Linked DNA regions of Homo sapiens: region 2 is linked to region 1. Evidence: promoter capture Hi-C in 16 types of primary human blood cells and fetal thymus (Javierre and others, 2016). All regions are on one chromosome and are shown on one strand. The core of a region is centred on a gene start or on the middle of the fragment in contact, and the rest is flanking DNA. Distances in the headings are between cores, read along the strand shown.

Region 1 (4,900 bases), core at 841-3,340:
CCCAGGTAGCAAATGTGGGATGTCTATTTTCCCCCAGCTTGCCCAGGGTTAAGGTGAGCCCAGTCAGCTTCCACCAGTTACACTCAGTGACACAGGTGCAGTTTGTTAGAGTTGGTGCAGTTAGATTAGTTGGAGGTGGGCCCAAGGACTTTGGGGATGCGGGTTGAGGGGGTGGGGAGTGGGGTGACAGGTACCAAAGGGTAGCAGAGGGAGGGATGGTAGAGGTGATTGGAGAGTGTGACCCTCGAAGTGGATGGGGTTATGGCAATCGACAATGACATGACCTAGGGTTAGACCAGGGAAGTGAGTGGCTGGGGTAGTCAAAGCTGAGGTCAAGGAATTGGGGAACCAGGGTGTCGATTGATGACAGGAGTTATGCTGGAGAAAGTCAGTGCTCCAGGAGCTAAAAACCTTCAAGGAATAAAGTAAGTGTTGGCATGGAGTGACCAGCAGCCAGGAGAGACAACAGCAACAAGGAGAGGTAGTGGGCAGCACAGGTGCAAGGCACAATGGAGTGAGAGGTGGGGAGAGCAAACAGAAAGAGGAAAGCAATGTCTTCAGCGGGAGGATAGAGCAAACGAAGAAAGGGGGGCCGGGCACAGTGGCTCACACCTGTAATCCCAGCACTTTGGGAGGCCAGTGCGGGTGGATCACCTGAGTTTGGCAGTTTGAGACCAGCCTGACCATCATGGAGAAACCCCATCTCTACTAAAAATACAAAAAAAATTTAGCCGGGCGTGGTGGCACATGCCTGTAATCCCAGCTACTCTGGAGGCTGAGGCAGGAGAATCGCTTGAACCCAGGAGGTGGAGGTTGCAGTGAGCCGAGATCGCACCATTGCACTCCAGCCTAGGCAACAAGAGTGAAACTCAGCCTCAAAAAAAAAAAAAAAAGAAGAAGAAGAAGAAGAAGAAGAAAGGAGGCTGGGAATAGGGAGGATGGTAGGAAAATTAGCAAGGTTTCAGGAATCAGACATGGGATAAGAGACCGGAGCTTCTTGTGACTGGCGGGCATAGGGCAGAAATGCAGAACTGTGGGATCGTTCTACAGTGAGTGGCAGATACCTGGAAGGCAGCTGCAGCCTTAGGTCTTGGCTCTCACTAATTGGGTGATGTCACCTCTGTCCAAGCAGTCGATCCCAGGAGCCTCCGAAGACCACCAGAGCAGTCCTTAGTGCCAGGTGAGTCTGCTAAAATAAAAACACAACGCTTTGCCGAGAAGCGGGGTAAAAAAAAGCTTTATCGCCGGCTGCAATCGAATTTCGGGGACAGGCCGGGTGCAGTAACTCAGGCCTGTAATCCCAGCACTTTGGGAGGCCCAAACGGGTGGATCACTTTGAGGCCAGGCGTTCGAGACCAACCTGGCCAACATGGCAAAACCCCGTCTCTACTAAAAATGCAAAAAATTAGCCAGTCATGGTGGGCACGTGCCTGTAATCCCAGCTACTCAGGAGGCTGAGGCACAAGAATCACCTGAACTTGGGAGGCAGAGGTTGCAGTAAGCCCAGATCTGGCCACTGCACTCCAGCCGGGGTTGGGGGTTGTGGGGGACAGAGTGAGACTATCTTAAAAAAAAAAAAAAAAAAAAAAAAAAAAAAAAGGAAGTGGAGACTAGCCACAGACCCAAAAGAAAACGAGCAAAAATGTAAAGCCTACTTTTGGCAATTGCTCATGTGGAGAGGAATGAATGCAGTGTTCTTGAAATTATTGAAATATTAGATCCGGAAGCTGAAGTGGGAGAACCATCTGAGTCCAGGAAGTCGAGATCATAGTGAACTCTCATCCCGCCACTGCACTCCAGCCTGGATGACAAAAGTGACACTCTATAAGACAAAAAAAAAAAAAAAAAAAGGCGGGGAGGGGGCTGGTCACACATACTCTCACCTAGACAAGGATATTGACGACCAATTCTGAAGCATGATATAACGCAATAAGAACGTGAATATAACAAAGTATAACCTTTAAAACACAACGCTCACTCACCTAAAAAATCGTTCACCTTTGTTTGAAGTACTACAACCTCCCAACCCCACCGTTTTCTCCAAAAACCCCCTCAACACAGCATTCTCAGAAACAAAAAGAAAGAACGCACACACTAAGCTAGGAAAAACACACATAATTACACCTCACCACAAACAGAGATCTGGAAAAATTTGTCGAATCCAGCATCTTTGCCTTCGCCATTACCACCCTCATATCACCATATTACACCCACGGTGAGCAACGATAGGGGCAATTGACAACTTCGTTTCTCAATAGGCCTGTTGAAAACAGCAAGCCTTTGGGCATGGTTTATAGTTGGCTACGTTTTCAAGTGAATTCTCAGCTCTGTTTTTGCCCCGTGGCTGAAGCGCCATTTCTAATTTGCATGTCTCGCCCTTTCCCGCGTGGGTAGGCGTGGCTACGGCGATCTGAGTCCCCGCTGCGGTCCAGCTCTGCTCGCAGCGGCCGGCCGAAGCTGGGCTGGGGCTCCCGGTCTGGACCATCCGGGGGTCAAGACAGTGGTCAGGGGGAAATGCGCGTGGGCGTCACTAGCGGTCTGTGGAAGGGAGTTGGAGGAGAGTGGTCCGAGCTCTTTTGAGGAAAGCCATCAGGTCATCACTGTAAAGACTGGAGCGTCCCGCGGCCTGGCTGGGTCCCAAGCGAAGGCGGAGCCGACGAGGCCCCGCCGCCCCCCACCCCCTTCCCGGGGCCACAGAGAGAAGTCGGGTCGCGAGACCGCGCCGAGGGGGCTGCCGCCCTGGGAGTCACAGCCCCGTCCGCGCGCCTTGCCCTGTCGGCGGGGCACTGGGGGCAAACCACTTAACCTCCGGACTCTGTTTCCCCAGCTGGAAAGCAGAAACACCAATGCCTACCTCGTGGGGTGGAGGGAGCAGAAACGGAGCCGAGGAAGGGACCGTGGCTCGGTAGTCTGCAATGTGAGTCAGAGTTTCCCACAAGCTTCCCCAGAAGGGGTCATGACTGTGAAATGACTGAGACAATAAAATAGGAAGCATTTACTGTTTGGCTTAGGCTCTGTGTTAAGTGCTCTCCTCATTACAAACTTGCAAAAGTTACATACAGATGCAGAAGCTGAGGCAGAGAGGTTAAGCAGCTTGCCCAAGACCACAGGGAGGTAGGATTTGAACCTAGGTGCACTGGCCACAGCATCTTCCCCATCACTCCATCCACCTGTGAAGCAGAGAGCCTAGAGCCAAAAATGGATACCTAGAGAAAGATAATTTGTTCTTGTGTGTCCAGCACTCTGTGAGACAAAGCACTGAGCCTGAGACACAAGTCTTCTGTCTGCAGAGAGGCAAGAACCAAGCTGTCTGCTGCAGCAGTTGAGAAGAGCCTCGGCCCTGGCACTGTGGCTCATGCCTGTAATCCCAACACTTTGGGAGGCCGAAATGGGAGGATCACTTGAGCCCAGGAGTTCGAGACCAGCCTTGACAACAAAGTGAGAGCCCCATCTCTACAAAAAAAAAAAAAAAAAAAAAACCAGAAAATCTACCGGGCGTGGTGGAGCAGGCTTGTAGTCCCAGTGACTGGGGAGACTGAGCTTGGGGGACTACTTGAGCCCTGGGAGGACCACTTGAGCCCTGGGAAAACAGCTTGAGCCCCAGGAGGCCAAAGTGGCAATGAGCTGTGATCAGGCCACTGCACTCCACTCCAACCTGGGGGACCGACTGAGACCCTATCTCAAAAAAAAAAAAAAAAAAAAAAAAAACAAATAGCCAGGCAGGGTGGCTCACACCTGTAATCCCAGTACTTTGGGAGGCCTAGGCGGGCAGATCATCTGAGGTCAGGAGTTCGAGACTGGCCTGGCCAACATGGTGAAACCTCCTCTCTACCAAAAATACAAAAAATTAGCCAGGCGTGGTGGTGGGCACCTGTAATCCCAGCTACTTGGGGGGCTGAGGTGGGAGAATCGCTTGAACCCAGAGGCGGAGGCTGTAGTCAGCCACAATGGCACCATTGCACTCCAGCCTGGGAGACAGAGCAAGACTCCGTCTCAAAAAAAAAAAAAAAAAAAAAAAAGTCGGGCATGGTTGGTGGGTGCCTGTAATCCCAGCTAATCGGGAGGCTGAAGCAGGAGAATTGCTTGAGCCTGGGAGGTGGAGATTGCAATGAGCCAAGACCATGCCACCCACTGCACTCCAGCCTGGGCAACTGAGCGAGACGCCGTATCAAAAAAAAAAAAAAAAAAAAAAAAAAGCAAGGGAAAACAGCTTAGGCAAGTCACTCCTCTGAGGCTTATTTTTTTTCCTGTATAAAACAGGAATCTTAAAATCTAGTCTGTAGTCCTGGCGTTCTCTACCCTCATCCACACAGGGTCTCTGTTCTCTTTTACCTGGCTTTATTCTACTCGGTGGCACCTGTCACCCCACATTTTATACAATGATACGTTTATTGCATTTTAGCATAGTAGAATGTAAGCTCCAGAGCAGGAATCTTTGTCGCTTGTTCACTTTTATATGACTGGCACCCTGAACAATGCCTGGCATATAGTAGCCACTCAGTATATATTTTTTGAATGAATGAATGAATATTAAATATATTAATATTTCCTACAATAGAAAGTGATTAGTAAATCTCCTGGCTTGTGGTAAGTATCATGACCCTGCAGGGCTCACTATTTTACTGCCTCTCTGCTCATTTTCGTGTTTATCAGGCCATCTTTTGCTTGCTAATTTGGTTTCCCAGGTACTGTTTTTTGTTTTTTTATTTTAGTAGAGATGGGTTCTCTCTATGTTGCCCAGGCTGATCTCAAACTCCTGAGCTCAAGCAATCATCCTTCCTCAGCCTCCCAAAGTCCTGGGGTTACAGGCATCAGCCATCATTCCCAGTCCCCGGTATTGTTTTTGAGTACTTAGGGGAGCCAAGGGGAAACTTCCGTCTTTGCCCTGTGAAGGTTCAGT
Region 2 (4,900 bases), core at 722-3,221, 290 kb after region 1:
AAACCCGCACGGTGGGCGCCTGTAATCCCAGCTACTCAGGAGGCTGAGGCAGGAGAATGGCGTGAACCCGGGAGGCGGAGCTTGCAGTGAGCCGAGATTGCCTCACTGCACTCCAGCTTGTGCAATAGAGTTTCGAAAAAAAAAAAGTGCTTTTTTATATCGAGGCAATTCGAGTCAATAATATATGCTGCAAATAATTCTGTAAAGATAACTAGAAGCTGGGCGCGGTGGCTCACGCCTGTAAACTCAGCACTTTGGGAGGCCAAGGCTTGCTTGCGTGCAGGAGTTTGAGGCCATCCTGGGCAACATTAGCGAGACCCTCTCTCTAGAAAAAAAAATCAAAACTTAGCTAGGTTTGGCCACTCTAGGCACGCTGCCTATGGGGTAGCCCTGCTCTGCAAAGAGCAGTAAAACATAAAGTTAGCCGGGCGTGGTGACACATGCCTGTGGTCCCAGCTATTCAGGAGGCTGAGGTGGGAGGATTGCTTGAAGCCGGGAGTTTGAGGCTGTAGGGAGCTGTGATCGCCCCACCTCGCTCAGCCTGGGTGACAGAGTGAGACCCTGTATCAAAAAAATAAAAATATAAATATAACTAGAGCACGCAGCATCATCACTATGTTACAGAAGGGAAAATGAGGAACAGAACGTTAACACCAAAGTCAGAAAGTTTTAAAGGCTTGGTCTCCATGCTTCTACTTTGCCACTGCAAGACCACAGTGAATTAAGTCTCATCCCTGCCTGGGTTAGATGTCAGAGCCTGAGACACAATGTAGTTGGACTCCAGTCCACAGGTGGCTGACTCCAAATCTGATATGAGTTAACTCCAAATCTGATGTAAGTTCAAGTTTTGGGACTGTTCCTTAACTTTTTTTTTTTTTTTTTGAGACGGAGTCTCGCTCTGTAGCCCAGGCTGGAGTGCAGTGGCGCGATCTCGACTCACTGCAAGCTCTGCCTCCTGGGTTCATGCCATTCTCCTGCCTCAGCCTCCCAGGTAGCTGGGACTACAGGCGCCTGCCACCACGCCTGGCTAATTTTTTGTATTTTTTAGTAGAGACGGGGTTTCACCGTGTTAGCCAGGTGAATCTCCTGACCTCGTAATCTGCCCGCCTCGGCCTCCCAAAGTGCTGGGATTACAGGCGTGAGACACCGCGCCCGGCCTTTTTTTTTTTCGAGATGGAGTCTCCCTCTGTAGCCCAGGCTGGAGTGCAGCGGCATGATCTTGGCTAACTGCAACCTCCGCCTCCTGGGTTCAAGCAATTCTCCAGCCTCCGCCTCCCTAGTAGCTGGGACTATAGGCACCTGCCACCATGCCTGGCTAATTTTTGTAGTTTTAGTAGAGCTGGGGTTTCACCATACTGGTCAGGCTGGTCTCGAATTCCTGACCTCAGGTGATCCACCCACCCGCCTCGGCCTCCCAAAGTGTTGGGATTACAGGCGTGAGCCACGCCGCCCGGCCCTTTTTTTTTTTTTTTTTAACAGGGTCTCACTCTGTTGCCCAGACTGGAGTGTAGTGGCGCGATCTCGGCTCACCTCCGCCTCCCAGGCTCAAGCGATTCCTCTGCCTCAGCCTCCCAAGTAGCTGAGATTACAGGCGCGCGCCACTACCGCCCGGCTAACTTTTTTATTTTTAGTAAAGACGGGGGTTTCACCATGTTGGCCAGGCTGGTCTTGAACTCCTGACCTCAAATGATCCACCAGCCTCGGCCTCCCAAAGTGCTGGGATTACAGGCGTGAGCCACCGCGCCAGGCCTATCCCTTAAAATAGTTTTTAATTTGAATAAGGTTTACTATGAATAAATAAATCACAGTCGGCTTGATCCCAAGAGCACAGACGTTCCTGGTGCCCCTTTTCGTGCTCTCCCAGCTTGCGCCACTATGGCCCTGGCCCTTTAAGGCTGAGCGCGAGGCCCCGCCTCGCCCGGCGCCCCGCCCCTCCCGCTGGATCCCGCAGCCGCGGCTCTTCCCGACGCGTTCCGCCTTCCCCAGCTGTGCACTCTCCATCCAGCTGTGCGCTCTCGTCGGGAGTCCCAGCCATGTCCGACGAGAGAGAGGTAGCCGAGGCAGCGACCGGGGAAGACGCCTCTTCGCCGCCTCCGAAAACCGAGGCAGCGAGCGACCCCCAGCATCCCGCGGCCTCCGAAGGGGCCGCCGCCGCCGCCGCCTCGCCGCCACTGCTGCGCTGCCTAGTGCTCACCGGCTTTGGAGGCTACGACAAGGTGAAGCTGCAGAGCCGGCCGGCAGCGCCCCCGGCCCCTGGGCCCGGCCAGCTGACGCTGCGTCTGCGGGCCTGCGGGCTCAACTTCGCAGACCTCATGGCTAGGCAGGGGCTGTACGACCGTCTCCCGCCTCTGCCTGTCACTCCGGGCATGGAGGGCGCGGGTGTTGTGATCGCAGTGGGCGAGGGAGTCAGCGACCGCAAGGTGAGCGGGTTGCGTAGGGCAGGGCAGGGCTGCGCAGGCCACTGGGCAGTGGGGCACGAGTGGGCGAGCGCCGGGGGTGTGGCAGGGCGGGAGAAACTGGCGCGGACCTGGGTGCACGAGCGTGGAAAGCGTAGCCAAGGAACTTGTGTTTGGGGGCTCCTGGAGAGCGGCATTTATGTGGGGAGGGGAGACGAAATTATCGCCCCTTCCCCAACCATTTTTAGTTGTGGCCGCCGCCCAGAAGCTGTGCTGGTGGGGGGGAAAACAATAAGGTGCCCATGCGCATGCGCACAACCACACTACCGTCCCCACCCCCCCCCCCCCCCCCCATTAAAACCACACCTGTACCCCTACCCACCAAACACTCTCTGGGTAATTGTGGTCTGTGACTATGAGTGACGGTTAGTGCCCCCTTTCCCCGAGGGAGCTTGAGGGGCTATGTCGTCGGGGTTGGGCGGGGGCACAGCGGCCGTGCCAGAGTCCTGGTCACATGCAGCCCCGTGGTCTGTGGGGGTGTGAGGCGGCCCCTCCCAAAGCAAGGCCAAAGAGACGAGACACGCCCATCACGGAGGAGAGAGAGCCTTTGCTACCCCACCGCCACCAGCCTTACACCGCCGATCTGATTTTGGGGTGGGGGAGGCGGGATTGGGTCATCCGATCTTTGTCTTGGGCTCTGTGTCTCCCGTGACTGCAGTATCTCCTCCTCCTGTGACTCAGCCCTCAGCCTTCGGGCCACGACCCGGGGCTGCCCTTGGGAATGCCTGGGGCGGGGAGTGGAAGGGGGGACCCACCTCTGCCTTCCTCCTGCAGAGGACCCCCACTTCAGAAACCCCAGTGCCAGGGGTTTGGACTGGAACGGAGAGGTGCGGCGCCTTGAACTGGTTGGCCAAGTCTGCAGGCCTGTTTCTCCTTCTCATTTATCATTAATCTTGGCCACAACCCTGGACACCAGAGAGCTCAAAATGATCAGCTTTTTGAGAGACCTGGGATGAGGCCTCAGCACGCCATTTGTTTAGAGGTTTCTTTTTTTTTTCTTTTTCTTTTTTTTTTTTTTTTTTTTTAGACGGAGTTTCGCTCTTGTTGCCCAGGCTGGAGTGCAATGGCGCGATCTCGGCTCACCGCAACCTCTGCCTCCCGGGTTCAAGCGATTCTCCTGCCTCAGCCTCTCGAGTAGCTGGGATTACAGGCATGCGCCACCATGCCTGGCTAATTTTGTATTTTAGTAGAGATGGGTTTCTCCATGTCGGTCAGTCTGGTCTCGAACTCCCGACCTCAGGTGATCTGCCCACCTCGGCCTCCCTAAGTGCTGGGGTTACAGACATAAGCCACTGCGCTTGGCCAGGAGTTTCCTTTTTAAATCAGACCCCTCAATGAGAGGCCCCACAGATGCAGCCTCTTGCAGACCTGCCAGCCCAATTCTGGAGCCAGGTTTGTTGGATTCATCCTGTATGCAAACAGCTTCTCCTTAAGGCTTTCCTCTGAATTCAGCTCTGGCCCCACCCTCAAACTGACTTCTAAATGATCCCACTCTTGAGCAGGCGTCTAAGAGGAATATTTTCGGGAGGTAGTTGTAGTTCATGTTACTGCTGAAGGCCACCCACCTCACCTCCCCTCCATACACTTTCCGCCTGGTAAATACAGGATATCCTGTCCAGGGCAAGAATCTGATGTAAGAGCCTGGATTCTGCGGGGAGGGCCCTTCCCTCTCTCTCCCTCCTCCTCCTTCCTGGTGTCTGGGTTGGGGAGGGGTCATGGCCCTGATTTGGATGGCCTGAGGGTTAGCATGAGCCAGGGTAAGTGAGACTTGTTCTGGGTCAAATCTGGGACTGGCCATGACCCTAAATGACCAATGCACTCCTCGCAGCTCTCCTGGGTTGTTCTGTATCTGCTAGTCCTGAGTCCCTGGGTGGAGGGCTTCCGTTCTTGTTCTCCAGACCTCATCTCAGGCCAGAACTTGGAAGGAAAGACCCCAGCATGCCCTCAGTTCTCGTATTCAGTGGAGTGTGGGGGCTTGAGGACATGAAAAAGGGCGTAAGTGGCAGTCCCATCCCCCTTCCCCATGGACCCTAACTCTTGTTAATATACAGAATTCCCATCATTCCTGGCAGGGATCAAGACAGACCCAGATTGTCCCAGAACAGCACCCACACCTCCCTCTTCATGCTCTTCAGAGAGCGCAGAGAAGTCTTTTCTCCTGACGCTCCCTCCTTTTCCCTGCCCTTCCCTTGACCCCACTTGCTAAGCTGGAGAGAAAGGTTCTGTTATCTTTGTCCCCTTTCCCTCCTGCACAGAGGCTCTCGTGGGGGTGGGGGGGAAGCCTTTTACTGCTGCGTAGGCCTCTGTAGCCCTTCTTGTCTGTTGCCCCTCCTGCACCATCTCTGAGTGAAGATGTTTTCTGGGCTCCCAGTGCTGGCTCAAACACACTTCTCCCGAGGTGACCACACCCTGCTGTAAGCGCTCAGAGAACTTTGCCTGCACTT

Evidence for each region. Contacts are between HindIII fragments. The CHiCAGO score rates a contact against its expected background, and 5 or more counts as called.
Region 2: the fragment with the promoter of VAT1 here is called in contact with a fragment that was not itself captured in region 1 in 1 of 17 cell types (endothelial precursors); the score reaches 5.0 in endothelial precursors.

The regions. Positions count from the first base shown.
Region 1 is chr17:43,313,173-43,318,072 of GRCh38, reverse strand. No RefSeq gene overlaps it. Among named protein-coding and RNA genes, the nearest start is that of LINC00910, 73 kb to the left of the region's middle. RefSeq lists enhancers at 1,398-2,030, 2,031-2,668. The HindIII fragment of the contact is 1,703 bases long and covers 1,239-2,941 here.
Region 2 is chr17:43,019,456-43,024,355 of GRCh38, reverse strand. VAT1 (vesicle amine transport 1) reads left to right here and starts at 1,971. Exons shown (of 6, transcript NM_006373.4): 1 at 1,971-2,420. The coding sequence starts at 2,034. The HindIII fragment of the contact is 11,344 bases long and covers 1-4,900 here.